5 separate regions of the Homo sapiens genome follow, and regions 1, 3, 4 and 5 are each linked to region 2. The links are contacts of gene promoters, found by promoter capture Hi-C in human tissues and cell types (Jung and others, 2019). All regions are on one chromosome and are shown on one strand. The core of a region is centred on a gene start or on the middle of the fragment in contact, and the rest is flanking DNA. Distances in the headings are between cores, read along the strand shown. Region 1 overlaps RASGRF2 (Ras protein specific guanine nucleotide releasing factor 2). Region 2 holds the start of RASGRF2 (Ras protein specific guanine nucleotide releasing factor 2). Region 3 overlaps MSH3 (mutS homolog 3). Region 4 overlaps RASGRF2 (Ras protein specific guanine nucleotide releasing factor 2). Region 5 overlaps RASGRF2 (Ras protein specific guanine nucleotide releasing factor 2).

The links. Contacts are between HindIII fragments. The study calls those that stand out against the background at their distance.
Region 1: a fragment that was not itself captured here is called in contact with the fragment with the promoter of RASGRF2 in region 2 in 2 of the 25 tissues and cell types used here (aorta and dorsolateral prefrontal cortex).
Region 3: a contact is called between a fragment that was not itself captured here and the fragment with the promoter of RASGRF2 in region 2, in 3 of the 25 tissues and cell types used here (heart left ventricle, hippocampus and thymus).
Region 4: a contact is called between a fragment that was not itself captured here and the fragment with the promoter of RASGRF2 in region 2, in 1 of the 25 tissues and cell types used here (hippocampus).
Region 5: a fragment that was not itself captured here is called in contact with the fragment with the promoter of RASGRF2 in region 2 in 2 of the 25 tissues and cell types used here (dorsolateral prefrontal cortex and hippocampus).

What each region holds. Positions count from the first base shown.
Region 1 is chr5:81,140,140-81,145,548 of GRCh38, reverse strand. All of the region lies in intron 17 of RASGRF2 (Ras protein specific guanine nucleotide releasing factor 2), which reads right to left. Among named protein-coding and RNA genes, the nearest start is that of CKMT2, 90 kb to the left of the region's middle. The HindIII fragment of the contact is 3,186 bases long and covers 488-3,673 here.
Region 2 is chr5:80,955,921-80,961,933 of GRCh38, reverse strand. RASGRF2 (Ras protein specific guanine nucleotide releasing factor 2) reads right to left here and starts at 1,571. Exons shown (of 27, transcript NM_006909.3): 1 at 908-1,571. The coding sequence starts at 1,195. RASGRF2-AS1 (RASGRF2 antisense RNA 1) reads left to right here and starts at 1,027. Exons shown (of 4, transcript NR_105015.1): 1 at 1,027-1,153. RefSeq lists enhancers at 747-1,468, 4,559-5,079. The HindIII fragment of the contact is 17,436 bases long and covers 1-4,985 here.
Region 3 is chr5:80,823,774-80,829,692 of GRCh38, reverse strand. All of the region lies in intron 20 of MSH3 (mutS homolog 3), which reads right to left. Among named protein-coding and RNA genes, the nearest start is that of RASGRF2, 130 kb to the left of the region's middle. RefSeq lists a silencer at 3,606-3,806. The HindIII fragment of the contact is 5,695 bases long and covers 1-4,868 here.
Region 4 is chr5:81,119,948-81,126,118 of GRCh38, reverse strand. It overlaps RASGRF2 (Ras protein specific guanine nucleotide releasing factor 2), which reads right to left. Exons shown (of 27, transcript NM_006909.3): 16 at 2,352-2,477. Among named protein-coding and RNA genes, the nearest start is that of CKMT2, 110 kb to the left of the region's middle. The HindIII fragment of the contact is 6,979 bases long and covers 1-6,171 here.
Region 5 is chr5:81,184,296-81,190,230 of GRCh38, reverse strand. The region is part of intron 18 of RASGRF2 (Ras protein specific guanine nucleotide releasing factor 2); the gene reads right to left. Among named protein-coding and RNA genes, the nearest start is that of CKMT2, 46 kb to the left of the region's middle. The HindIII fragment of the contact is 4,810 bases long and covers 1-3,770 here.

The sequences.
Region 1 (5,409 bases), core at 831-3,330, 180 kb before region 2:
CTAGGTGCCAAAGTCATACACGATCACTTCCGCTTTATTTGTTAGAAGCAAGTTACTAAGTCCAGCCCACACTAAAGAGAAGGGAAATTTAGCACCATTTCTTGAACGGAGAAGTAGAAAAGAATTTGTGGTATATTTTTAAAACCACCAGACCATGCAAGAGAAAGGTTCATGTCCTTCCTAAACAAAATGGCAGCACTACAGAAACCCAAATAACAAGGTTCCAGCTATGCCTTATATGTATAAGGCAGAGGTTAGGGTGGTGACAGGTTAGACTGTGGGCCCCTTCTTCACTTATTTTTTTTATTTTTCATTTTTTGAGACAGAGTTTCACTCTTGTTGCCCAGGCTGGAGTGCAATGGCATGATCTAGGCTTACTGCAACCTCCACCTCCCAGGTTCAAGCAATTCTCCTAAGTAGCTGGGATTACAGATGTATGCCACCACACCCAGCTAATTTTCTATTTTTAGTAGAGACTGGGTTTCTCCATGTTGGTCAAGCTGGTCTGGAATTCCTGACCTCAGGTGATCCTCCCGCTGCCTCAGCCTCCCAAAGTGCTGGGATTACAGGCGTGAGCCACTGAGTCTGGCATTCTTCCCTTATTTTTTAAACATCAAGTGTGCATTGGGCCAAGGCAATAAAGTACTGATGAAATTCAAGCAGAGTAGGGTGGTGGTTAGAAGAGCCAGATGACAGGATTCAAATCTGCTACTTACTCCCTGTGTGACCTAAGTGACCTTAGGTGATTTACTTAACTCTCTGTATCCTCTGCTGGAACCTGAGTATAGTAATATTAACTACTTCACAATAAGTTAACATATGTAAAACTTGGACCATTGCTCAGTATATTGTATGCCTATTGAAGTGTATAACTCTAAATCACTGTTGTCATTGCTATGTTGATAATAAGTGCAACCACTCAATTTATATACAGAAATGCCCATCTGGGCAGCATAGGAGAATGGTTTGCAAGATGTAGGTGAAGCTTTGGGAGCTTCACCTCTATAAAAATGACCCATAACTGCTATGTATTTACAATCAATTAAAAAGGCTAACTACATGTTATCAAGTTATCGCCTTATGTCTTCCCAGCACTTGTGAAGCCATAGGCTGTAAGTGCCGGCAAGGGCACAACCTGTACTAATCACAGCTGGTGCATAAATAAGGAACACACACAGGACCTACAGTCTAAGGGGATATTCTCCTGGCAGATTGAAAGCCCCTTCCTCCCTTACCATAGACCTTAGAAGTTTTAATGTTTGGTTTACTTGTGCTGACTTCCACCACCAAGCATATAAAAGCAGTATGTTTCCATAGATTACTTTGACTACCACATTTAATCTTTGACATAACAGTTTGAAAATTTTTTTAACTAAAAGCTTGTCACATCCTTTTAATGTATGAGGCTGATGAAATTTTACATAATCACAACATTATCATTGGTTATTTCTCCCAAAAAAGTTCATTGAGAAATTCCACTTTTCATTGTATATTTTTGAGGCTGTCTACTATTTCTAACTTTCCTGCATAATAATTTTCAGCTTTGCATAATACTGACATGACCACCACTGTTTATTTGCCCTATTGCCTTTATTATAAAGATTCAAATAACCAAAAAGTCCAGGAAACAGAATTTTTTTAGTCTTTTTTTTTTTTTTTCTGAGACATTTTCACTCTGTCGCCCAGGCTGGAATACAGTGGCACTATCTCAGCTCATTGCAACCTCTGCCTCCCAGGTTCAAGCAATTCTCCTGCCTCAGCCTCCTGAGTAGCTAGGATTACAGGTGTGCACCACCACGTCCGGCTAATTTTTGTATTTTTAGTAGAGATGGGATTTCACCATGTTGGCCAGGCTGGTCTCAAACTCCTGACTTCATGATCCGCCCGCCTCGGCCTCCCAAAGTGCTGGGATTATAGGCGTGCACCACCGTGCCTGCCCTTTTTAATCTTATATGATGATAATTTTTGTTTTTATGCTTACTCTGAATCATCATTAGATAGTGAGAGTCTTTCTGACTCATCAGAGATTATTTTCAGCATTCCTGCATTGTTAAAAGTATTTCATTGTATGTTATTATTAAAAAATTTGTATTTTTTTTCAGGCCAGGTGTGTTGGCTCATACCTGTAATCCCAGCACTTTGGGAGGCCAAGGTGGGTGGATCACCTGAGGTCAGGAGCTCAAGACCAGCCTGGCCAACATGGTGTAACCCCATCTCTACTAAAAATATAAAAATTAGCCAGGCGTGGTAGCATGCGCCTGTAATCCCAGCTACTTGGGAGGCTGAGTCAGGAGAATCGCCTGACTCAGGAGGCAGAGGCTGCAGTGAGTGGAGATTGCGCCACTGCACTCTAGCCTGTGCGACAGAGTGAGACTCCATCTCAAAAAAATAAAAATAAAAAATAAAAAATGTGTATTTTCTTCAAAGAATCAGAAGTCCTATGTTCAGATAGCTTTTGTCTTTCTAATTGGTCTTTCCCAGCCTAAGATTTTTTCGTCTTTAAAATAAAGGGATACTACGAATATATTTTTCACCACAGAAAACTTCTACAGAACCAAGATATAATCCTAGAAATGCACTGGAGGCCACATCCTGAGAGCAATTTACTACAGGACCCAGTTGGATGCATTAAGAGACTGCTGGACTCCTGACAAGACTGCAAGAGGCAGGGCCAGTTTCTTGGTGTACAGCCTGTGTCACACACCGCCCATGCTTAGAAGGTCTCATGCTTGGTTAGATGCCCTGCATCTTAATTGAAATTCTTAATAATTCTTAATAAGAATTCTTGAAATTCTTAATAATTTTTTCAACAGGGACACTTGCATTTTCATTTCACACTGGGTGCTGCAAAGCACATAGCCTGTCCTAGCAAGAGGATGTATCTCCATGAAATAGGAGCAGAATTCCAAAAGGTGAGAACCTAGCAAGGTAAAAAGACAGCATGATACAGAAAAAGAGGAGATGAATAAGAAATAAGGCAAGGGTGGGCTACACCAAAATGAAAAGATGGTGAGGGCCCCATATAAGAAACATTGCATGCAGCCAACATTTTGACCTTAGACTTCTGAATGTCATTGCTAAAACAGGTTACACAGGCAGCCTGCTTCCCATCATCCTCTGACTAACCAGAAGATAGAGAATTGCATTCAGAAAGTGAGCATAGTTCTTTTTAGGGCTGGCAGATAGCAGAGCAGTGATGTTTAGCCTTCTGTTTTCACACCATTCACACGTGCAGCACATTGCCATCAATAACATCTCTCTTCTGGACTGCTTGCCTCTGGGAGGCCACTCAGAATCCCCACCGGGACAGGAATATTTTGAGGAAGTCCCCGGCTGTTCTTATTCTACCCCATCTACACTCCATTGGAAATCAATGCAGTACAACACCTACATGATATTAAGCTTCTGATTTTGAAACAGAAAATTGATATGTAATTCCTGCCCAAATTTTACATTTTAGCTTGTAATCTAGACCCTGGAAAAAGCCCAGATTCTGTGCCTTTCTTATAAGTTTATGCATGCTGTTAAGCTATTTAAACAGTGCTGAGTGTTCTCACAAATCCTGAGACTGTAGACAGCAGAGTATATATGTGACATCAACTTAATTCACAGTAATCAATATCTCACTGCAAATTTAATCCAATTCTCAATACAGAAATACATGCTTCCTCTAACCAGATCATACCATTGTACTAAGGCCCTGATTTCCACAATGCTGTGAATGAAATCACAGATCCTTCAATGCTAACTGCTGGTCAACTAAGAACCCATCCACAGACTACTAATTTCCCCCAGGCTCATCTCTCTGGAGTCCCCAAACTGCTGTGTCTATCACTTAGGGGAATGCTAGGTGGATACAGAGGTGGGAAAAAGACGGAAAGAAATGGACGTGCTGCAGAGAAAGGCAGAAGCAAGAGTTAATAACAAAATTAAGCAATTCAAGCTTCCCAAGCTCTTGCTGTTTTTGAAGTTAATATGGATTAGAGGCTATATCAGGGCAAAGAAAGCAGCAGTTTAGCAGTGGAGAGATCTGAGGCTCATTCTCAATAACTATGAGAACCTGGGCAAGACCCTTCACCACTCCAGATGCCACACTTGCTTCAGAATCTATAACGTGAGATGAAGAGAGACGGTCCCCACTGTGCCCCTTCCATAGTGAGGGGATGACATAGTGAGGGAGGCTCAGACCTTTGAGATAAGATTACCCTCTGAAAGCAAATGTGGTCAAGCACAGTGCCCGAGAAGAGATCAACTCTCTGTAAAATCACCCAGTAAAAGGAATAGAAGATACATGGGAGTGGCACTGAAGAGATTCAGGAGTTTACTGCTAATATTTAGGAGTGTCTCTGGAAATCTTAGCTGTATCAACCTACAACTCCAGCTGGAAGTGATTACAGTAAATCTGAGGTCACACACTGGTGGCTCACAGCCAAATGTGGCCCATGAAAGTATTGTGTTTGGCCTGGACAGTATTTTTAAAGAGTGTGAATTCACTTCCAACATTTCAAAACAGAAAATTTCACATAAATATCAAGATTTCTGGCTAGAAAAAAAAAAACCAGAGAAAACACATCTGACAGCCCTAGTCCTGCAGCCCCTCATGGCAACAATCTGCAGGGGCTGGGCAGTGGCTGTGTCCTTCAAACATGGCAGCACCTCTCCATCCCTACTTAGGTTACTTGCCTGGCCCTGACATGGATGAAACAGTAATGTAATCAAGCAGCAATTAAGCCATGTGAGGCATAATCAACTACATTGTACCTTTGCTGAGAAGAGACAGTAATAGAAGAGAGCAGCCTGCAGGGAGCCTGGGAAGGGAAAGTGCAAAGAAAAGGAACTCGGCAGTGCAGCACCATCAGGGAAGAAGGTGGACAGGCCAGCTGGAACAGGATTTGGGTCTGCTTGGAAAGCACAGCAAAGATATCTCTGTGATCTAGCTTGCTGCGTGGCATGTTTCCAGGAAGAGAATGCAAAGCCCACCTGCCATGAGCATTCTAGCTGCTTCGCAGGCTCAGGAGTGTACTCACACCAGTGAAAGCTGCAGCTTTGCAGTTCCACAATTCTAATTCCAAGCAAAATGTGAGTGAGTGTGCGTGTGTGCATGTGTGTGTCTGTGTGTGTGTGTGTGTGTGTGTGTTTAAAAATAGGACTTGGGACCATTGTTAAAGTACTGGTCTTTAGTGAAATAATGTTTAAATATTTTTAATATATTTTGGAAAAAAACAATAGAAAATATGTCCCAAACTAGGATACCCTCCAGTAGGAAAAAACAAAAAGGTGTCCTGAATCTGTTGAAGAATGGTGTGAAAGAACAAGTAGATGAAAAGAAGTATCCTTGGATACTTTTATTCGGGAATTACCCAGTGATTCTGAACAAGGCCTATTAAGGTACAGCTAATCTAGTTTCAA
Region 2 (6,013 bases), core at 322-2,821:
GCTAAATGAGAACATTAGGGGCATAAAATTAGTCTGCTTTAACTTTAATAACCAAACGGTGATTGGAAACATACAAACTTTGTGTTTGCAGGAATGAGGGGCTGGGATCACTAAGACTTAAAGGGTTTTTCTCCCCCACCCCGCGACCATGAGCACACAGCAAAACTAATAAAATTATGACCCAGAATTAAAAGGTCGCATTCATTTTCAAAGCATTCATTTAAAAGTACAGAAGCGTTCTTTAAAAATGCCCACATTTTTAAACATAGCAAGAATGTGGCTACCAAATATTAATCCTGAGGAATATGAATACACATTTACCTTCATAATTACACCCAGCAGGTCAAATGTTAGCAAGGCCAACTGACCGAAATCACAAAGACTGATTGAAAATGACCAACAGAAAGTGTCTGTCCGGCTTGGGAGCCCCGCTTGTTCCCAGCCCAACCAGTGGTCAAACATCTGCAGGCAAAGAAATCTACACGCGCCAGCCGGGTATGGCAGAAATCAAACTTTTCCAAATAAGTTAGTTCCGTCTTGCCAATCTACACCCAACAGGTGTCAATACATGTCACCAGACAAAAATCTGGCGAGCCAGGTCTAGAGAAGCAATAGATGGTTGGCAGAGAAGCTGAAACGACTCGACCTCTACCAGGGTAATGAAAGCAAGTCGGGCCACTATTCTGACTGATCACTTGGCAGTGGGGTGGAGGGGTATGGAGATGGGAGAATCCCTGGATGAAGATCGGAAGGAGCGTGGAGATGTCCCGCCACTGGTGACGCGGGGGGATTTCGGAGCATAGTCCCCGCACTCTTTCACGACCCCCGACCCCTGATCCCCGGATTAGGACGGCAAGGGAGTGCGGCGATCAAGGCTGGGAGACCGCGGAGAGAAGGCGCGCGGTACCTGCTTGTCCAGCGCGTCTCGGACGCCTCCCTGCCCGGCGCCGGCCCTGGGTGGCGCGGGCGTTCGTTCGCAGCTGCAGCCCTCCAGGAGGTACATGCCCGCCGGGCGGCAGCTCTGCTCGCCCTCGAAGTAGAAGAGCACATTCTGGTAGAGGGCGAACCACTTCTCGTGCCAGCGGCTCGCCTCGGCCGTCTTCTTACTCAGGAAGCCGCGCTTGGTGCCCTCCTTGCGCGCCAGAAAGGCCAGGTACAGGGCGTGCCCCTCGTTGTAGCGCACGCTCTTCTGCATGGTGCGGGTGCGGAGGGCTCACGGGTGGCCGCCGGTCTCACCCCTGCCTCGCGGCCATGGCCCAGCTGGCTCCCTCGAGGGCGCGACCGCTCAGGTCCCGGCCGGCGAAGGGCGCCCCCTTTCCCCACGCCGCGCGCAGGGCACCCCGCCCGCTTTCGGGAGGCCGCGGCGCGCGGTGGCAGGGGCGCGGGCTGGGGCCGAGGCACGCTCTCCGCCCTAACCACCACCCTCCCGGCCGAGCCCCCGGAGCCCCCCAAGCCCCCAACGCCCGCGTGGAGCGCGGCCCCGCGAGGGCGCCCGAGCCGGCCGCCGCTTCGCCCAAAGTTGCGGGAGCCGAGCCCCCGCGGCGGGCTGGGGCGGCAGCCGGGGAAGGACTGTCCTCGGGCAACGCGCTCCGGGAGACAGAAGGTAAAACGTCACGTGGGAGCTCAGCTGTAATCGGCTTGGAGACCGATTTAAAGGGCAAAGTCGGCGCGGCGCCGGCGGTGGCGCAGCCCGCTTGCCCCGGCTCGCGTCCCTCCCTCGCCCGCCCCGGCCCGGGCCGCTGCCTCTGCTCGGGCGCCCGCCGGGATGGGGCGGATCAGGGAGGTGGAGGCGCCCGGCCGCACCACACACCCGCTCACACGCGCTCGCACACTCGCGCACAACGCGCGCACACACACACGCACACCCACACACACGCAGACCAGTACATTCACCCAGATCCACAATGCACACACTCAGACGCACAAAAATACACTCACAAATGCACACAAACACAATGCGCGCACATATGCACAAAAACACACGCGCACACACTCATGACACACAAATACACATTCTCACAACGCTCACACTCAACACACAGTCACAACGCACAAATGCATATAGACAAATACACCCACAATGTGCGTTCCCGCGCACAAAAATAAAACCCACATTCAGATACACACTTAAGGAGCTACACACATGCACGCAGTGATATGCTCACTTACACACACATTCACACACAACCCACACATTCACTCAAACCCACATTCAAACATACATTCATACACACATTACACTCATACAGTCACACAAACAGCACACATATACTCACACGTTCACAATCATACAGACTCATAAGCAGATAATCAAACACACACACAGATGAACACACATGTACATTCACAAATTCATCCAAAAATACACACAAAGCACTCACACACGTATTCGCACGAATCCACACACTTTCACAAACCCACTCACACATACACACACACTCACATGCCACATCCATAAGTACGTTCCCATGGCAGTAGGTAGAGTCACAGAGTGGCTTTGCATAGCCCGCATCCTTGGCTTTTCTGCTTGTACCTGCATTGTAGTATTTAAAACTGCCGGTAAAGGTTAAGGAGAGTGGCCCAAGTGTTCCCGGAAAGGCATCAGATGCCGAAGTTCTTTCGGAATGCCTGTTATTTCACAGTGGTAAGATGCTAAATTTTAAGTGCCGAGTTTTCAACCTGGAAAAAAATACCCAAATAAGGGACACTTTGCTGCCCAGGGCAGAATCCAACCCCAAAGGCCAGCTGTCACAGGCTCATCGTTTGTAGGACTGGATTCATTTGATTAACAAATCTGACAGGTACAACCAGAAAACCAAGAGCCACCCCCCCGCCCCAACCCCATGCTGTAAAAATGTAAGTGGAAAAGAAATAATGTAGCCAGCAGCTGTGAGAGAAAGCCAGTGAAACCCCCGGGGAGGGCCTATATTTGATTCTGCTATACACATTTTTTATTTTCCCCAGTCATTTATCACTAAAACGGAGTGCCATCATAAAATGTTTATTGTTAAAAGTAAATAATAATGCTTTTCTGGGTGATGAGTCTACGACAATACACCTGTCTTGTACTGCCAGTTGTGTGTTCATGAATTGGTAGCCCCAGGGGTTCTGCCTGTTTCATAAGTGCTGTTTCTGCAGAATATTTTAACTCTGCCTCACTGAGCAGCTGAGTGGGGTTTTTTTTTCCTTTTACCTTTTTAAAAAATTTTCACTTTTAACAAGTATATAGTAGGGAAATTGCCATTTTGAAATTACAGCGTGAGAACAGTGGTCATTTCTCTTTACGTTTTTAAAAATATCTAAAGGACAGTGCTGTGCTAAATTGGGTTTAACCCAGCTGGAAGTTTGCATTGTTCTTCAGAGAAGACACAAGTACAGAGACAGTAAGTAAATGCAGGCAACATTTTGGAGCCAGATTCTAGATGCAGAGGAGCTGGTGATTGCCTCAGGAGGCCTTTTATTTCTTTCTCTGTGGTCCAATCCCAGCTGTGAGAACCGTAAGTGAGTAGACACCTGTGTGGTTGATAAGCTCCATTTTTTTAGTAGAAACCAGTAAGAGTGTGAAATCAGCACAAAAACTATTTTGCCATGAGTAGTCAAACCTTCTAACGCACTTGAGTTTTTTCAGATGTGAAAGATTCTCTTCTTCAATAAGCAATGTCTCAGTTACCATCTCTGTCTCCTTAAATGTGCTTTTCATTTGAACCACATGAAATATTCACAACCTCTTGTCTGACATCACTTCCTACCACGGAAGGTTATGTGGCCCTTATATGCCACCCCATCTGCTCTGCCCCTGGACAATGAGAGAAAGGAGTGCTTGTTTCCTGCAAAATTTGGCTGGTGATTACCGTGGGTTTTGATTATGGAAATTCACTGCAAGAACCATTTATTGATCACTAGTTTATGTCCTCAACACTATATTTAGGTGATGTAGAGCATATAGAGAAAAAGCATTGCCTGTGTTCCTGGTGTGCTCAGTGTAAGAGGAAGAGAATTTCTTTCTTTCTTCTTTTCTTTCCCTTCCTCCCTCCCTCTCTCTCTCTCTCTCTCTCTCTCTCTCTCTCTCTGTCTCTTTCTCTCTCTCTTTCTTTCTTTTTTTCTTTAGAGAGAGGTTCTTCCTCTGTTGCCCAGGCTGAAGTCATAGCTCACTGCAGCCTCAAACTCCTGGGCTCCAGCAATCCTCCTGCCTCAGCCTCCAGCGTAGCTAAGACTATGGGTGTGCACTACCACACCTGGTTAGGTTTTGTTTACTTTTTGTAGAGACAGAGGTCTCACCATGTTACCCAGGCTGGTCTCAAACTCCTGGTCTCAAGTAACCCTCCTGCCTTGGCCTCCCAAAGTCCTGGGATTGTAAGTACGACACCACCCAGCCAGGAAGAAGATTAATGTTTAGGTGCTTCTTCTCACCTGTCTGTTTCTCAAGTGCCGAGCTATCTCTGTAATCCCTGTAGCACCCAGTAGGAGAGTTTATATGCAGTAGGCATACAAGTTTTTCAGACAATTATTTTCTAAATTAATTTCTTATTTGGTCATTGAATTGTTAAAGAGGGCATAAGCATTTGCAAATATTAGATCATTCTGCAAGATTGTAAGAGATGAAAACAACCAGACATTCCTGGACAGCCTAGAGAAGCTATCTCTATTAGGTGTCTGATGGGCACCTGGGGGCCTTTAGTCTCCATTCATATGGAAACCACATCCCTGGAATGGTGCCATCCTGAAACACAAAGGATCAGGAGTTTATGTAAATAAGAATGCTTTCCCCCAGCTGATCAAATAGATTGCCAAAAAGAGACTGCGTTCCAAGTGGATGGGAACAAGCTTCTCTGAATTCATTGTTTTTCCTTCTTGCATTGCGTGGATTCTTTCTTGAGCGGGCCAGTTTAAAAAAATTTTTTATGGGCAACAAAGCATATGATCACAGTGCAAGTGGCCTCTTTCCCCTTTTCTAGATAAGTTAAGAGGGGAAAAATAGCAATGAGCTGTCATACCTGGAAACTCTACTAAATAGAGAGGGAGACATTATTCAGATAATTTGATGAGAAAAGGAAGGAAGGGAGGGAAGGAGGGAAAGAGGAAAGAAAGGACGGAAGGAGGGAGGAAGGAAAGGTGGGAGGGGAAATTTTATCTGAATTGTCTAAAGCTTTGAAGTTTAGGGGAGTGGGGAGTGCACAACCTAACCTACAGCTTTTCAAAATCCCTAACTCATGCCTTAGTATTCAGATGCACAAGGTAGGTTTTAATTTTTTTTTTCTTTCTCCTAAACTCTGTTTTGTTAGTAAAATGTACATGGGCTGCATGAGTTTCTGCAAGGACTTTTCCCTGTGGTTTCTATAATTCAGAAATGCATCCGCACTGGGTTCTTGGAGGAAGATTATGTCAAGCAAAGCTGTCAGAGGCATTTGAACCAAAGCAACTCCATCTTAAATAGGAGCCGGGTAAAATGAGGCTGAAACCTACTGGGCTGCATTCCCAGACGGTTAAGGCATTCTAAGTCACGGGATGAGATAGGAGGTCAGCACAAAATACAGGTCACAAAGACCTTGCTGGTAAAACAGCTTGCAGTAAAGGAGCCACCAAAACCAAAATGGCAACGAGAGTGACTTTGGTCGTCCTCACTGCTACGCTCCCACCAGCACCATGACAGTTTACAAATGCCATGGCAATGTCAGGAAGTTACCCAGTGTGGTCTAAAAAGGGGAGGCATAAATAATCCACCCCTTGTTTAGCGTGTCATCAAAAAATAACCATAAAAATGGGCAACTAGCAGCCCTCGGGACTGCTCCGTCTATGGAGTAGCCATTCTTTTATTCCTTTATTTTCTTAAACTTGCTTTCACTTTGCACTTCGGACTCGCCCTGAATTCTTTCTTGTGAGAGATCCAAGAATCCTTTCTTGGGGTCTGGATTGGGACCGCTTTCCTGTAACAAAGCCACAGTATTGCCAAGATCCTTTTCTTAGCCTGACAGAAGATCACTTGGGGAATTGTCATTTTGATGGCTTGTAGATG
Region 3 (5,919 bases), core at 772-3,271, 130 kb after region 2:
CTACAGGCCAATATCTCTCATGAACATAGATGCAAAAATCCTCAATAAAATATTAGCAAAATGAATCCAACAATGTATAAAAAGAAAAACAGACCATAACTAAGTAGGACTCATCCTAAGTGTGCAAGACTGGGTGAACATTTGATCACCAGTTAACATAATCCATCACATCAACTGGCTAAAGAAGAAAAATCACATGATCATATCAACAGACGCATAGAAAGCATTTGATAAAATCCGACACCCATTCATGATAAAAACTCTCAGTAAATTAAGAATAGAGGAGAACTTCCTCAACTTGATAAGGAATATTCACAAAAAAACCTATAGCTAACATCATACTTAATGGTGAGAAACTTGAAGCTTTTCCAACTAGGATCAGCCAAAATAGGAAGCTGTCACCTCTTACCACTCCTTTTCAACACTGCAGTGGAAGTACTAGTTAATGCAATAAGACAGGAAAAGGAAATAAACAGTACTTTGGTTCAAATTTTGACCCTTCTGAAATTCAAGTTGAAACTTAATCTCCAATGTAACAGTACTAAGAGGTGGGGCATTTAAGAGGTGATTGGGTGATGAGGGCTCTGCCCTCATAAATGAATTAATCCATTCGTGGATTAATGCCAAGCAAAAATGTGGGGTCAGAGCCAGAGCCAGGACAGACAACCCCAAGTGGGGTAATGTCTAGTGGAGCAGAGAGAACAGAACCTCGCTGAGATCTCAGAACTGTAGAACTGCCAGCATTCAGCTCCAGCCTGGGAAAGCTGCAGGCACTTGACTGTTACTTGTGAGAACTGAAGCCTGGGAGAGCCCAGGAAAGCCTAGGTGGTGGGGCTGCCTGAGGCCCTGGGATCCAATCCTCACACTGGTGTATCTAGGAAGCAAGACATGGAACCAAGGAAGATTACTCTGGAGCCTCAAGGCTTAGTTTTTCCTTTGGGTGTTGGACTTATTTGGGACCTGTTACCCCTTTCTTCTTGCCTATCTCTCCCTTATGAAATGAGAATGTCTTACACCTGTCCCACCATTTATTTTGGAAGTAGGTAACACGTTCATTTCACAGGCTCACAGCTGTAAGAAATTTACCTCAAGATGAATTGTCCTTTGAGCATTACTCACATCTGATTCGATGAGACTCTAGACTTTGGGGCTATAAACATGGAATGAATGTATTTGTATATGAGAAGGACATAGAATTTGTGGGGGCCAGGGGCAGAATGCTGTGGTTTGAATGTTTGTCCCCTCTAAAACTCACATTGAAATTGAATTCCCAATGTAACAGTATTAAGTGGGGCCTTTAAGAGGTGACTGGGTCATCAGGGCTCTGCCCTTATGAATGGATTAATCCATTTGGGGATTAATGGATTAAGGGGTAATGAATCAATGGGTTATCATAGGAGTGGGTTACTTTCACTAGAGTGGGTCTGTTGTAAAAGCCAGTTTGGTTTTCTCTAGTAAGCCCCCTTGCCATGTGATGCCTTCTGCCATTTTATGAGGCAGTAAGAAGGCCCATACCAGATGTAGCCCCTTGACCTCGGACTTCCCAGTCTACAGAACTGTAATAAATTTACTTTGTTTATCAATTACCCAATGAGCCCTCATGTAAACTATGGACTTTGGGTGGTAATGATGTGCCAATGTAGGTTCATCAATTGTAAGAAAGGGAGTACTCTGGTGGGGGATGCTGAAAATGGGGGAGGCTGTGCAGGGGCAGTGGTAAGTGTAGATGGACACTCTCTATACCTTCCTCTCAGTTTTGGTGTAAGCCTAAAACTGCTCTGAAAAATTAAAGTCTTTTTTAAAAAAATAGTGTCTAAAGGCCTCCTTCATCATACCTACTACAACAGTATCTATCTCCAGGGGATCTTCAATCAGAAGATTTGCCTGGGATTTGCATTTAAAACCAAATCAAACCAAACCTTCAGGTGACTTTGAGGAAGCTAATTAAAGGAACAAGCCTTAAATTCATAAAATAATTTCCCATGAAAAAGATGAAATAAGATAACTAGTGTTTGCTAGACACAGTTAAAGAAAGCACAGAGATATTGATAAGATGACATTTTTAATGCCAATAAAATCATAACAACTTACTCATTTAGTGCTCACTTATCATGTGGATTTTAGTACTGGTATTTACAACTAATTAGAAGGTGTGGACTGATTCAAGATGTTTTCTTTCTGTCCATAAAGAATATATTTTGTATAGAGTACAAATACTCCACAGTCAGTGCTCAATATTTTCTGAATTACACTAAGTTGGGCAAACAAATAAGTTACTAAGTACTTGAATGTCTATTATCTTCCAATTCTCTTTCAAGAAAAACACACTCGTGCCACTCTGAGTACACAGAATTCCCTGAAGCTGGGTGTCAGAAGAGGGAGTTTGTGTAAGTAGCATGGCATGAAAATTGTTAGCTATGGGCCACATCGAGTAAATATCTCTTTTCATCAACGCTTAATCACCAACGTTTAATAGAAATAAATTATGCTGAGAGAAGAGGCCAATTGTTTTGCTTTTTTCAAACTGTTTTCTAATGAGACTTAATAATTCATTGCTTTTCTAAAACTTAATTACTGAGTCTAAAAGGCTAGATGAGATTTAAGTTTATATTCATCAAGATAATAAACAGATCTTATCTCAGTGATGCATTCAAGGATGTTAATGATCCTTGGAAATATGGGTCTAGAAATATTTCATCGATGAGTACACATATCATAATGCACAGATATATCCATTAGAAACAAATGTATGTGTTTGCCAAAACTCTACTTTTTAAAAAAATCTGCTTCTTATTCAGGAAAAGATTCATGTGAGGTTATAGTATTCAGATAAAAGATTCTGGAGGCCGGGCGCGGTGGCTCACACCTGTAATCCTAGCACTTCTGGAGGCCGAGGCAGGTGGATTACCTGAGGTTAGGAGTTCGAGACCAGCTTGCCCAATGTGGTGAAACTCCGTCTCTACTAAAAATACAAAAATTAGCTGGGCGTGGTGGCACATGCCTGTAATCCCAACTACTTGGGAGGCTGAGGCAGGAGAATCGCTTGAACCCAGGAGGTAGAGGTTGCAGTGAGCCAAGATTATGCCACTGCACTCCAGCCTGGGCAACAAGAGTAAAACTCCATCTCAAAAAAAAAAAAAAAAATTCCTAACCTCCTGTCTGTTTATAGCGTTTCATCCATTTACTTCTTCTTCTTGCACACTGTATAGCACATAGTGGGCACTCAATGAATATTTATGGAATCCACAGATTTAAACCTAGTGTTCTAAATGGCCAATTGATAATAGAATCTATTTACAGATACAGCTTGGAGCTAAATCTTATGCAAATATCTCATTCTGCTAGATTTTAATATTTTTTCCATTGAGTACAAAAAGCATTTGAAGTGATTTACAATAACATATTCTAATGAAACAATTACATGAAACTAAGATTACAAGCCATACAGTAGATTCTTACATTTAAGCTTAGCATGAGCTTTTAAAATGCTAATTCTTGTGTACCACCTTGGAGATTCCAATTAAAAAGATGTGTGAAAGGGCTTAGTAAGTAGCATTTTTAACTAGCACCGCCAAGATTCTGATGCAGCTGTTCTAAGAATGACACTAGAGAAATACTCCCATAAAAGAAGCGAAGGGGAAAACTAAGCCAAATTTGTTTCCACACCTGAGCCTTGAGTTTAGCTCTTGCTGTCTTGGCAGCCAAGACAAAAAGGAATTAAAGAGGAAGCAGCCACTGGCTGATAGCAGGAAGCCTGGCAGTTTGTCAGAAAAGGCCAATAAATTGCTTCAAATCTTTTTGTAAACAGGCACAGTATGCACATGGAGAGAAAAAATGTCCCTAGCATTAACAAAAAAATAATTTACCAGATGGCACTTCATGTGAAGGACATTAAGTAATAAAAATGAAAATGTTCTTATGAGCAATTTTGGAGAATATATAGAAATATCATCAAATGAACATTTCTTATTCTAATCTATTTTAAGCATGAGAACAAACTTTTAAACACTGGTGGTGGGATTCTAAGCTGGTACAGCCTCCTTGGAGATCATGAAAGACACATGTTCCTTACAATCCAACAACTCCACTCCTAGATTGAGAAAAACTCCCTTGTGTGCACTAGGAGTTGAGTATGAGACAAGTCACAAATATGACTGTTTATATTTGCAAAAAATTGGCATCATATCAAGAAAAATGAGGGAATAGTAATATATTCATAAAATAAACTATCATAATTAGGGAAAAATTAATGAACTCAAAGTATATGTACCCATATGAATTTTATAAATATATAACACTGAGGGGGGAAAAAGCCACTTACAGAAGAATATAGTGTGATACACTGTGTGTAAAGTTTAAAAGCATACCAAATACTTCCATGCATTGTTTCAAAAAACATCAGTGAGTAAAAATGTAGAGAAATGCATGGGATGGATACCAAAGTCAAGGACAACCAGTTAGTTACTATGGATAGGGTAGAGGGCAATGGGATTAGGGAGGATTAGAGGTTCGATTGTATTGTAGTGTTTTATTTCTTTAGTAGGGTAGAAGGTGCATGGAGGATTATTATACGTCTGAATTATTTCATAAAAAATCAATGAAAGCTACAAGGGCGTAATATTAAACTATATCCTAGGGATATAATTTAATGGGATATAATTATATCCTAGGGATAAAATTTAATGTAGTCCATGTAGATTCCTTTCCAGTGGTAACAACAGGAAGATGTGGGAGCACAGTGGAATGGATAGGGAACATGTCCCATATACTAAAGGGCAGTCTGTCCCAGACGGAGCTCTCAGAGGTTAAAGAAATCAAGGAGTATCTGTACTCCAGATACACTGCAGTCATTAAAAAGAGCACGACTAATCTGTATAAACTGATAGAGAAATATGTCTCCCACATATTAGGAAACAAAAGCAAGTTATACAATAGTAATGCTTAGTATGATACCATTTTAGAAAAGAAAAGATGTATACTTGTAGACTTGTGAAATGTTACCTAAAGAAACATGGTAGACCTGGGGAGAATGGGGTGTTTTTGTTTCACTTCATACCCTAGTACACCTGTTACATTTCATAATAAGCACCTATTATTTTTATAATTCAACACATGATTTCTCCAGCGAGGGCTTGAGGAAGTGCTTCCACATCTTGGCTTCACTTTGAAATCATCTGGGACACTTTTAAAATGTGACTTCCAGACCATGCCCCAGTCCAACTTAAGATTTCTGGGAGGGAGGTGGGGGGCAGCCCCCGCCCGGCCAGCCGCCCCGTCTGGGAGGGAGGTGGGGGGCAGCCCCCGTCCTGGAGGGAGGTGGGGGGCAGCCCCCACCCGGCCAGCCGCCCCGTCCGGGAGGGAGGTGGGGGGCGCCTCCGCCCAGCCGCCACCCCGTCCGGGAGGTGAGGGGCGCCTCTGCCCGGCCGCCCCTCTGGGAAGTGAGGAGCCCCTCTGCCCGGCCGCCACCCCGTCTGGGAGGTGTACCCAACAGCTCATTGAGAATGGGCCATGATGACGATGGCGGTTTTGTGGAATAGAAAAGGGGGAAATGTGGGGAAAAGACAGAGAAATCAGATTGTTGCTGTGTCTGTGTAGAAAGAAGTAGACATAGGAGACTCCATTTTGCTCTGTACTAAGAAAGATTCTTCTGCCTTGGGATGCTGTTGATCTATGACCTTGCCCCCAACCCTGTGCTCTCTGAAACATGTGCTGTGTCCACTCAGGGTTAAATGGATTAAGGGCGGTGCAAGATGTGCTTTGTTAAACAGATGCTTGAAGGCAGCATGCTCATTAAGAGTCATTACCACTCCCTAATCTCAAGTACCCAGGGACACAAACACTGCGGAAGGCCGCAGGGTCCTCTGCCTAGGAAAACCAGAGACCTTTGTTCACTTGTTTATCTGCTGACCTTCCCTCCAC
Region 4 (6,171 bases), core at 1,702-4,201, 160 kb before region 2:
GACCTGAAGGGCTTTTATTAGCTTGGCCCTAATGTTTCACAATCATGCCTAAAATAAATACACACGTTAAGAGGGGAAGCAAAGAGCTGCTTAATGTGCCCAAGCACAAACGCATAAAACAGCTCTACCTTCTCTTTCCACAACAGACTTATTGCATTTTGGAACAAGGTGGCAAGTAGACAGATGCACAGGCAAAATTTCAGCTAGATAGAAATATGTGATGCTGTCCTTGTTCAGTTCCTCCATATTATCACAGGTTTCAGCCTCCTTCCCATGTTTCTATGTCTCTATGATTTAGTTATATCAGGGAAGAAACAAAGGATTTGGCTTAGTTAATCCACAAACAAGATGAGGATTTCCAAATAATCCTTATGTGAATTAAAAATTTTATATGTGAATATAAACATATGAAAAGAGAATATAAAGTAGAGTTCTAATAATTGTAACGCCTTGAACAGCATTTAACTCTTGCCTTGGTAGAGCCTTACTTCCATAGATTTTGGTCCCAAACTCTTCCAGGTTACAATGAAGTCAAAGGGATCTGTCCTATGTGGCAATGGTCAAGGAAGTTGCCAAGACCTGGACTGACCAAAGCTCTAAGAAGAATAGAGAGATCTGGCTAATTCCATAGTAGTACTATGACAAGCCAGGAAAGTCTAATTTGTCACCTTCATTTACCAGAAACACCCAAATGGCAGGATAACCCATAACTGACTTGGAGCCTTAAAGCCCCAAGGGCTAATATCCACAAAGGCAGACATCTAACAACAGCCAGACTGAGACCTTCCTAGTTGCTCTCAGAGCTCATGGCAATGACAACAGCTTCTACCAAGCTGCTAAGGCCACCGATAACCATTTGGAGCCATATACTTTACCTTTTGCTAAAATGCCCTATTTGAAGCATGCCTATGAGAGTCAAAAATGCCTTTATAGGCTGGGCGCAGTGGCTTATTCCTGTAATCTCAACACTTTGAGAGGCTGAGGAGGGTGAATCACCTGAGGTCAGGAGTTTGAGACCAGCCTTGCCGACAAAGTGAAAACCCGTCTCTACTAAAAATATAAAAACTGCTGGGCGTGGTGGCCCACGGCTGTAATCCTGGCTACTCGGGAGGCTGAGGCAGGAGAATCACTTGAACCTGGGAGGTGGAGGTTGCACTGAGCCGAGATTGCACCACTGTACTCCAGCCTGGGTAACAGAGTGAGACTCTGTCTCCAAACCAAAAAAAAAAGCCTTTTCATTTGGGTTACTTGGGGTGAATCCGGTTTCATAATTGTGTAATTTTCTGTTCTGACTTGAAATAATTGGCTTAAGAAGAGAAAAGCAAACATTTCAAAACAACTGTTATTTGGATATATTTATTTGAGCAGTGGGGAAAATGGGAGATAATTAAAATATTTCTACCTTTTGTTCTGATTAGTTTTTTTTCTCCAATTAGAGGACATTTATTATGTTCCCAAACAAATTATGGAGTAATGCTTTACAATTTTCTTAACTATATATCAAAATACATATGCCAGTTTCTGCCACTAGCAATAATGATGACTGGGGTCCCATGTACCTGGACCTTATTTTAGATGAAATAATATTATTAATAGGGTCTCCCCAGATTGTGATGCCCAGAGGAGTCCACTTATACAGACTACATTGGGACTCATGGTAATATATCAGAGACTGGGAACATTTTGGTAAACCCAGCACTGAGATTCTTCAGCTAGCTAACATCTAAAGAAAGAGCCTTTTGATTCACGTTACTCCTCACAAAATGCAATGCAATGATGGAACTAAACAAATGTTGGTTAGACTAATGACATCTTCTCTAATCATTTATTTTTCCACCACTTGGTCCTACAGTAACATTACAGTCATCCCTTGTTTCCTGTAGGGTATTGGTTTTAGGATCTCCCTCAGGTACCAAAATCCACAGATGCTTAAGTCCCTGATATAAAATCGTGTAGTATTTGAATATAATCTATGCATATTTTCCTGTATATTTTAAACCACCTGTAGATTATTTATAATAACTAACACAATGGAAATGCTATGTAAATAGCTGTCATACTATAATGTTTAGGGAATAATGACAAGAAAAAAAGTATGTACATGGTCAGTACAGAAGCTTTATTCTTCTGCCAAATATTTTTGATGGGTGATTGGTTGAATCCACAGATATGAAACCCATGGATGTGGAACCCACAGATACAAAGGGCCGACTGTATTTGCTTCCAATTAATTTTCAATAAGTGAGACTAAAAAAATTATTTTGGCAGTGAAACAATTAGGCAAAGGAAAGGTTCAGAAGCTAGAAATCATTTTTCACGTTTCTATTTCTGAGTCCCTCTTGAGCTCTTACCTCCAGGCTGTCGATAGCGGAGGTGCCGAGGAGTTGAGGGGGATCTGCAAGGTGAAAGTTCTGTGGTGTCCGCTGCAGGGGAGCTTTCCACTCCTGCTCGGTCCGCTGGTGCAGACTCTAGGACTGCTGCTTGAAAACATCATGAATTTTAACAACCAGGCCATGAATTCAAGAGCTTCTTGTCAGTATCATGCATGGAAACAAAAGTTCATTACAGATAATAAGCATTTCATTAAAGGGCTTTAATATGAAATCAAGTCAAGTACTAATGACACTAAATCTAAAAAAGGATCTTCTCTAACCCTGTCTTGATGACCCTGTTGGGCCTGGCTGACCCTAGCTGACCCTGGCCAGCCCCTTCTGTCAAATGCAGCAGCAGATGTTAAAGTAAACGGGGGTATGTGGTGGATCCCCTGCCCTTCCAAATGTTTTTGCTTTCTCTGAGTGGGGAAAGATAACTTTGTCAGGTCAAAAATCAGATTGGGATTACAAATCGGAACTTCACCAGTTCTTTGCCTGTGTTGCCCCCTAAACCAACCAAAGTTTGAATCTCTATAATGTGGCCCTCACCAGGGATCTCTGGGTCTCCCAGAGATCTAAAGCTATGTTGTCCAAAATGACAGCACTACCCAAACGTGGCTATGTAAATTTACATTAACTAAAGTTAAATTATTATTTTGGCTTCCCACTTGCACTACATTGAGTGCTCAGCAGCCACATGTGGCTAGTGGCTATGGTATTGAACAGCCCAGATATACAGTATTTCTATCCTCCCAGAAAATTCTACTGGGTATCTCTGAGCTAGAGCTACAGATCAGCAGGAAACACGTGAAAATCTTTTAAATGAACCATTGGGAGGGTTTAAGGTCATTTGAGCTTCTTTGCTGCAGCTAACATCCCAAGAATAACACACACATCATTTTAGGGTCACCCTTAGGCCATTACTAATGATGTTTCTATGCCCCTCCCACTGATTTATTAAGCAGGTAAGACTACAACTTTGTGTATGTTCTTTCAGAGAAAAATACCACAAAAATGTAATACATTTCCAACGATTCTTCCATTCTTCTTGGGCTTTTCATTAATTCCCATTGATAACAGCTTAGTGTCACCTCCACTAATTGTACATTAATCCTGTCAGCAGAACTACTTTGCTTTGCCATTCCATTCAAGATTTCACTCAACAAACTTTCAAAAATCTCTAATGACTTCATCTAAGGCCATTTTTATACTTGCATGTGACTTATCCGCTTAGAAATATGGCCACAATTTTGCTTTTTTGAAACACAAAGGGGCCAGGAAAAGGAAATGGTTAGAATCTTTCTCTGAATGACATAATTACAGTAAAGCTGGCAACGATGCAAGATGCAGACAAAAAAAATCAGTGCTTAGCTGTCGGTTTTATTATTTTCTAAATAACTGCCCCAAAATTCAGTAATGGAAGGCATCTGCTCTGTAAGAACGAGCAGAATATCAAATACATGTCCTTGGTCTGATTCAACCATTCAGTCATCTCAGGAAAATGAGAAAATCATTAGACAGCAATTACATTGAACCCAGGAAATTTCCCAATGAGAAAAGCTGGATGGACCCTGACTGTTCTGAAAGAACAGGAAAGCAAAGAAGAATCCTGTAAGCTAACAGGCACCTACAGAGAGAAGAAACCATGCCAGCACTGGGGGCTGAGGGGAGAATTCCTTCTGGCATATTCACTTTTGATCAGGCTCCTTGCAAACAGCTTTGCCTGCAGGACGAGTGGGCAGATGTGGCTCAAAACAAATGCTAAAATCGGGAGCACTTTCAGCCCACAGGCAGGCAATTTTCAAACTAAGAACACAGAAACAGACACTAGTGCTGTGGGCTGTGCAGCAACACAGGTGGCTAAGTTGCACGGCCATGGTCTAAGTGAACACTGAGGGAGTAATGGGGTCTGAATACAGTGAGCGACCCTTTGGCTTGCCTTTCTTGCCTGCTGTTGGTTTGGTTTTTGTTGAGAACCCATCACTGGGTGGAATCTGGATATCTGAGTCTGGCTGATATTTGTGTTTTGTAGAAGCACCTGGGGTTGAAGAAGATAGAAACTGACTGGTAATGAGAAGAGAGGGTATTAGTGAATGTTGGATGAGTCTGGAACAGACGTGAGGAATGAGTTGGAGGGAAATTAAATTGAATTATTTTTTCCCTAAGTTCATTGCCTCACTCATTTTAAAGGATATTTCCTATTTCGCTTCTTTCTCCTCACATTGTTTGACGTTCTCCTGCCAGAAAATTTTGCAAGGCTGGCATTATCATTGCAATGACAATAAAAATGGACAAAGGTCACTAGCACTTTTCAAAAAACATGCCCTGAAATGAATAGCTGGATGGCAGTGAGGGAGACGTATGGCATCAATAGGGACCTAATTGGCAAAACTGATATTATACAATGAGGTGGTGTGGGGTTGTATTCTTAAGTGAAAAGCAGAAAATGTGTAAGTTCTTGGCACGGGATTCATATTCAAGTTTGCCAACTGTTTTAAGTGTTAACATTATGTGATACACGCAAACATCTTTCAAATTAAAGATGGATCAATGTCTCCTTTTTCTTTGTCAACTCAAATTTTTAAGACTAGACAGCAGGGTTCACACAGCAGCACTTTTGGCTCTTACAGACATCACACACACACACACACAACTTTCAGACTCATGCTGAAGTAGTGTTCATCCATGACTTTCCTAAAACTATTCACGACCAGTATTGCCCATACACCAATACAAAAAAACAAAAACAAAAACAAAAAACCCTACAACTGAGTCTGTAATTTGTTTCACTTATTCAGAAAAATGCCAAAGAGCTACCTCAACCCGAGCCTTAATTCTAAACTTTCTACCCAGAGTGTTTCCTTCGCAGGGATCCACAGGATAAATTGTTCTCAGTCTCAAGAACTAGCAAGCATGTGCCCGCACAACCAATCTATTCCTAGCCTTCAATATGAATCACAATAATTGATTATATTCCTGTCTTTACTGTGCCAGCAGAGGAGCTTGGAACCAAAGTCAGGGGACTCTAGGAATTGCAGAAGACCACACAGTATTCATTTGTTCAGTAACCATACACTTGGCCACACACAACTTATTCCTTTTCTCCCATTGTCTGATTTCCTTACCTATTTTATTTTATTTTTGTCTTTGTTTTTTGTATTTTTGAGACAGGGTCTTACTCTGTGACCCAGGCTGGAATGCAGTGGTATGATCAGAGCTCACTGCGTCCTTGACCTCTTAGGCTCAAGTGATCCTCCCGCTTCAGCCTCCTGAGTAACTGGGACCACAGGTGCACACAGCCACATCTGGCTATTTTTTTTATTTTTATTTTTAGTAGAGACAAGGTCTCACTATGTTGCCCAGGCTGGTCTCGAATTCCTAGGCTCCAGCGATCCTTCCACCTCGGCCTCCCAAAGTGCTGGCATTACAGGCATGAGCCACCATGTCCAGCTACCTATTTCATTTTAATGTAGTTGTACCCTGTATCTCTCTGAATGACCACCTTAAATATTTTTAAGTATAAGATGGGAAATAAATGCATTAAAAAGAAATTAGAGGACAGCTATAGAAAGGGAAAAGAAATAAAGATGCAAAGAAGTGGCTTAATGGAAGGATTAAGGGAGGGATCAGGGTAAAATGAGAGCTAAGGGGGATGCATTAGGTGGTGAATGTGACTAAGAAGCCTGGGGAGCAGAGGAGCTGACAGCTCTGGAGTAAAGGTTGGCTCTACGGGCTTCACCAAGTGCCATGGGCCCCTCCTAGATACATACAATCTTGGACTTTCTCCATTACCCAGAGT
Region 5 (5,935 bases), core at 116-2,615, 230 kb before region 2:
CAAAAGGAACTGAAGTTGCTGGCCTATTTAAATTAAACGGAGCATTCTCTATTTCATTTGGGCGGCTGTCATGGGGAATCTGTTTGTGAACAAACACTGGTGTGTGCCTGGTGGATGTTTGGGATCTCTTAGCTGAGATACGCAGAGGCTGACAGTGTCGACAGCTAGAAGTGAATGGGTGCTGATAAATAATAAAAGGGTGAGACTGACATAAAAGTGTGTCGGGCGTAGTGGCTCACGCCTGTAATCCCAGCACTTTGGAAAGTTGAGGCGGGTGGATCACAAGGTCAGGAGTTCGAGACCAGCCTCGTCAATATGGTGAAACCCCGTTTCCACTAAAAATACAAAAAAATTAGCTTGGTGTGGTGGCGCATGCCTGTAATCCCAGCTACTTGGGAGGCTGAGGCAGGAGAATTGCTTGAACCTGGGAGGTGTAGGTTGCAGTGAGCCAAGATTGCACCACTGAACTCCAGCATGGAGACAGAGCGAGACTCTGTCTCTGAAAAAAAAAAAAAAAAAGTATATAGGCCATCGATTATCCTCTGACATGGTGATTGTATAAAATTATCTGTGGCTAGGCACAGTGGCTCATGCCCGTAATCCCAGCACTTTGGGAGGCGGAGGTGGAAGGATCACTTGAGGCAAGGGGTAGGTCAAGGCTATAGTGAGCTACGATCGCACCACTGCCCCCCAGCCTGGGTGACAGAACAAGACCCCATCTCTTAAAAAAAAAAAAAAGAAACACACACAGAAACAACAAAAAAAACATAAAACACCATTTGCAAGGCTGAAGCAGCAGACAACTCATTAGTCATTTAAAAACATCTCATAGCTGCTAGCATTTCACATTGAGACCAAATTTTATCTTCTTATTCCTGGTATCCCCATCAGTCCTACCAGCTGGGGACATGCCCAGGAGCCTCGTGGCACTCTGTGGTGCCTGAGCAGTGGGCAGCATCTCACCCACTTGTCAAGGTGGGATATCTGGGGTCTTGAGGCTTCAAGAACAGCGGGGGTTTCCTGGCCCTTCACCGCGGGCAGCTCTGACTGTACTTCCTGCAGGCAGGTGGCCTGGGGAGGCTGGCCGGGGCGTCTGCTGTCACCATCTCAGCCTGGGAGGTGCAGTGGTTGTCAGCAGGGGCACAGCACTCCTCCCTGCACCAGCCTTTAGCAAGTACAAATCCTTTGAGCAACACAAAATAGACTCAGGGTCAAAAGTAACTTTCCTAAGGAAAGATTGAGAAACAGGGAAAGCATTGGCAGTGTTGACATGTGCTATTCTCACTGTCCTGAGTCAGAAGCGGGTTTTTATGTTTCACATTTTGAGCGGTCTGCATCTCAACAGTTGGCCTGCAAGATGGAGAGGCTGCAAGATTGGGGGTTCCCGGCAAAAACTGTGCAGCCAGACGGCGGGGACTGAAACCTGCTGCTGCCATTTGCTATCGGTGGAACCTCAGGGAAATGGTTCAGTCTGAGCTTCCATTTCCCCATCTGTAAAGCAGTGGTAATAACAACATCGACCTCCTCTCCCTCAAACGAGTGGAGTCACAGTAAGTGACTTAATATTTGAAAACAACTTGAAACAGTGTCTGATATAAAGTAAGTGATACAGTATTTTTTTTTAAATTGGGTTTCTGTCATTCAGAATCCATCTTCACAGAGGAAGCTACCTACCTTCATTCTAAGAATCAGGTTCTCAAGTCACCCATAAAAGACCATGTGCCCCATATCATAACTAAACCGATACCAAACTTCAGGCTGCTCCTAGATGACTTCTATGCAATTCAATGGTTCGTCCTCCTTGCTCAGAGTCCTAGTGACACACTTCTGCACTGGAAGTCTCATCCAGCCATGGTGAAGGCTTAGGGAAAGGGGCTTTTAAAGTCTTGAACTTCTTCAGGAAGTGGGGACAAAAGCCCTATTCACAGCAGAGAGGCATCTTTCTCCTATAAAGATCTCAAAGGTCAGGCCCCCATATGCTGAGATTGCCTTGCAAATGGAAGAGAAGATCCGCTCTTTAAGGGGCAGAGACCAGGCCAGGAGTGTGACAGAAAAGTACCCTGTGGCCAACTGACACGAGCCCGGATGGATGAGGAGGGCAGGGCTGGAAGCAGGCCAGGAGCCGTCAGGAGAGGTGACAGCAGCAGGCCAGGAACGTCAGGAGAGGTGACAGCAGCTGCCTGCTCAATAGCTGGTTGTTTCTTTCACTTTTCATTCTCCTGCCCACACCGAAAATTCTGTGCTGTGTTTGTCCTAGCCCAACCTCCATTTCAGATTTGGAACAATGAACAAGAACAATGAACAAACCTGAACTCAGTGCTCTAATTCAACACTGAATTTTGTGTTTCACTAGGCAATGCCAAATAGTCAACAAAAAAATTTAGAAGCCGCCCCTGTCATCTGTCAAAATAAGAAACGGAAGAGATGAACTATGTCCACTCACATTCTGGGAAAATCTGATCCCTGAGACCTTGAGCACACTAAGTAGAGGCCATCACACCGTCACACACTTTTCCACCTTAATAAGTCAGAGGGCATGTCCCCACTTTACCTCAGATCTGGGACTGCAGCCCCAAAACCTAAATTCTGTGGAGCAGACGGATGCTCATTGGTTGGTTCCTTTACTGGGAAAGAGCCATGGTCTTCTCTGAGATAACAGTGACTCTGAGGTTACATAAAGGTTTTGTTTTCCTCTCCACAAACCTAATATAGGTGTGCCCCCTTCAGCAGGCTTATTGCTGGAGCCATCGTGGAGACCACCCGGTCGGGTTCTTGTTTCAGAGGAATGAGGCACTGTGGGAGACTGGAAGGAATTTTGACAGCTGGGTCTGTTTCCCTATGGTACCTTTGAGTGGTCTAGAACTGTGCTGTTTATACTGTAACCATTAGTCACGTGGGACTATTAACATTTAATTCCATTCAATAACATTAAAACTCCAGCTTTTTAGCCATGCTAGCTACATTCCAAGTGATCAATTAGCTGCATGTGGCTAGAGGCTACTGTACTGGGCACCATGACATAGAACATTTCCACCATCACAGCAAGTTTACCTGGGCGATGCTGACTAAACCCCTTTGAGACTTAGGTGGTTCACTGGTCAAACGGGGGTAACAGCATTTGGCCTGCTTGAAGGTCTGGGTTTGGACCAGATGCCGCTTTCACAAGGTTATCTCTATCAAGAGCAGCATCTGCAGTGCTTTGAGCCTCCATCTGTAATGGCTACTCTGTATGTTTTAACTCACATAATCCTCACCCTCCCACAGAGGAAAAAGTGGCATTAATCCCCATTTTTACAGATGAAGAAATGGAGGCCTGGAGGAGCTAAATAGTTTGCTCAGACACAGCCAGTAAATGCCAGAGCAGGGATTTCCATCAAGATCACCCTAACTTCACACCTCCAACAGGATTCGAAGTACCCCCAGCTCTGAGATCTCTGCTACAAAGACACATGAGGACTGAATTTAACTCCTACTGTGATTTTTGGAGACGTAAAAATTCTCACCTCAGCTGCTATGAGTGACTAGAGTGTGGTTGTGAGATCCGCTAATTCCTGTCTTCTACCTCAGACTATATTTATTTGTTAATTGTGTTATGACAGTGTTAGGGAACATATATTTTAATGAAAGAGTGAAAAGGACTCTGTTTTGTGTGTGTGCGCGTGTGTGTGTCTGTGTTTATAGGATAGAGTATATATAAAACCCTCTTATAATGGGAAAAGGGTGCATATATGTAAAACATACCATAAGCAATGCTAAATGTAAAAGAACAAATTGAGAGAAACGAATATCATTTGACAGATAAAGGATTTTGTCCTGAATATATAAAAAGCTCATAATGTCAATGGGAACAATACTAAAACTAATAGAGCATGGGGTAACAGGAAGAGGGGCAGAGACTTGGAGGCCCCTCTCAGGTGCTGGAAATGTCCCAGATCTTGACCTGGGTGGCAGTTACATGGGCGTATACAGAGGCAGAAAGTCACTGACCTACACACTGAAGTTTATTGCCCTTTATATGCGGTATGTGATATTTCAATAAAAATGCCAAAAAGCATGTTAACTGAAATGTAAACTCAAGTTATTCATTATTAGCTAAAAATGTGTCTCTTTGTTCACCATAAAATGAATGTAAGAGAACTGGAGTGAGTTAGAAATATAACAGCTGAGCTATTTTGATAGATTTTGTGAAATTGCTCTCCCAAGGGACCCTAGACTCCCTGTATCATAAGTAATAACGGAATCATCAAATGGCATTACTGCTTCTTGCCAGTCCCAGTAAACCAGTTGATAGCCTATCCTTCCCCACCTGACATGGAGTTCTGGGCAGGCACCAATGTCTTTCAGTACTTTTTGCTTATAAGAATGGTGTCATTTCAACAGTCAAAATGTCCAGTTCAGTATATTCTTCAAAACTTCAGTCCAGCCTCCCTCTAGCCCTGGCGTGGGCTGCTTCCATCCTAGTGGCCTGCACAGGAGGCCCTTTCTGCTGTCTCCACCACCTCTCTACTAGCTGGCTATTGCTTCTGATCCTGTACCTCAGGTCCAGGGGAAAGCAATAATTTAGTATGATAGTGTAAGGGGAGCCCAGCCCTGGCTCTCTCTAGATGTGGCAGGTGGGCAGTGGCCAGCTTTTCCTGTGTGGGGCACTTTGGTGAGATTTTGGAGACCTCTCTGTGGGAGACTTATGGCCAGCTCCCCTGACCCTGGCAATGTCTGTCCTCCTGTGAGTCATTTTCAACTCCCCCAGGCCCTGGGCTGCCAGTGGTCTTTTTCACCCAGCGTCTGTCTACGCGTCACCCCTCCAGGCCGTCCTCTTGGGCAGGATGCAGGGCCATCCAGATTGGACTCCCCATGGACCCATCTGGTTCACTCAAACACATATGAATACAGCTCACTCCTAGCATCCACCACTCTTCACTTTGCCCAGCCAGCACCTTTCACCTTAACACGGAGGCTAGCTGGATGGTTTCCTTGAAGCATTTCCCATGTGGCTAGAAGTGAAAAGGAGGCATCTCCCCACCTTCCCCATAGTGGTAGGGAACTTACACAGATGCCTCTCTCTGGAAATCTCCCTCTCCTTGACCTCTCCTACCTCAACTTCCCACAGGTGGGTGATCACAATTGCTAGCAGGATTGATTTCACGAGCTCTTAGCTGGTCTTGCTTAGGTGGCCGAGCCACTCCATTAAGGCCATGCAGGCTGTTGCTGCTACCTATTTTACCTGCCCCTGTGCCTTTGGTCCTCTGCCTGAACGTCAGAAACAATCTGAAGAATTCGATTTAACAGCCGGCCACACACATAATTACGTTAAGTCCAGTGGCTGTTAGTGGGCATTTTCCCAATGGCTGGAAGCCCCTTGAGGTCAGAGACTGCCTGGATCTTGGTCACTCCCACACCTACCCCAATGTCTGGAACATTCTGGTGCCCAATTCTTATTAGTGAATGAATCAAGGAGGTGAGAAAACAGAAAAAGGAGTAGCAGTGTTCCTCTGTAAACTCCTTTGGGGAGGAGATTTTTATGTAGGTAGGTCATTTTTGTCTGATCTCATGTTTTAAAAACATGCCCCTAAGCCTCCAATTAAGAAAATATGTGACTGTTTCATTCTCGGCCACTTGTCATTCAGACAGTACCCAGAGCCTGATGGCGCCAGTGGTAATCTGCAGACACAGCTGCAGCCCTTTTACCAGCGTCATTCATGGTCTGTGAAATTCCTCGAATAAATGGACAGAGCATCTCTTCAGAATTGGTTGGTCAATACGGTAATTGAGGAAAACAAAAATTGCTATAGATCATACGTGAAAGGCCTTCGACAGAGTCTTGTGCACAGATCTGAAATGTCTATAGCCAGCCCCCATCCATCTGTCTGCGCGCAGAGGACAAAAGCAATCACGGGAACATGTGGTTAATAGCACTACAGGTCTGAAACCTGCAGGG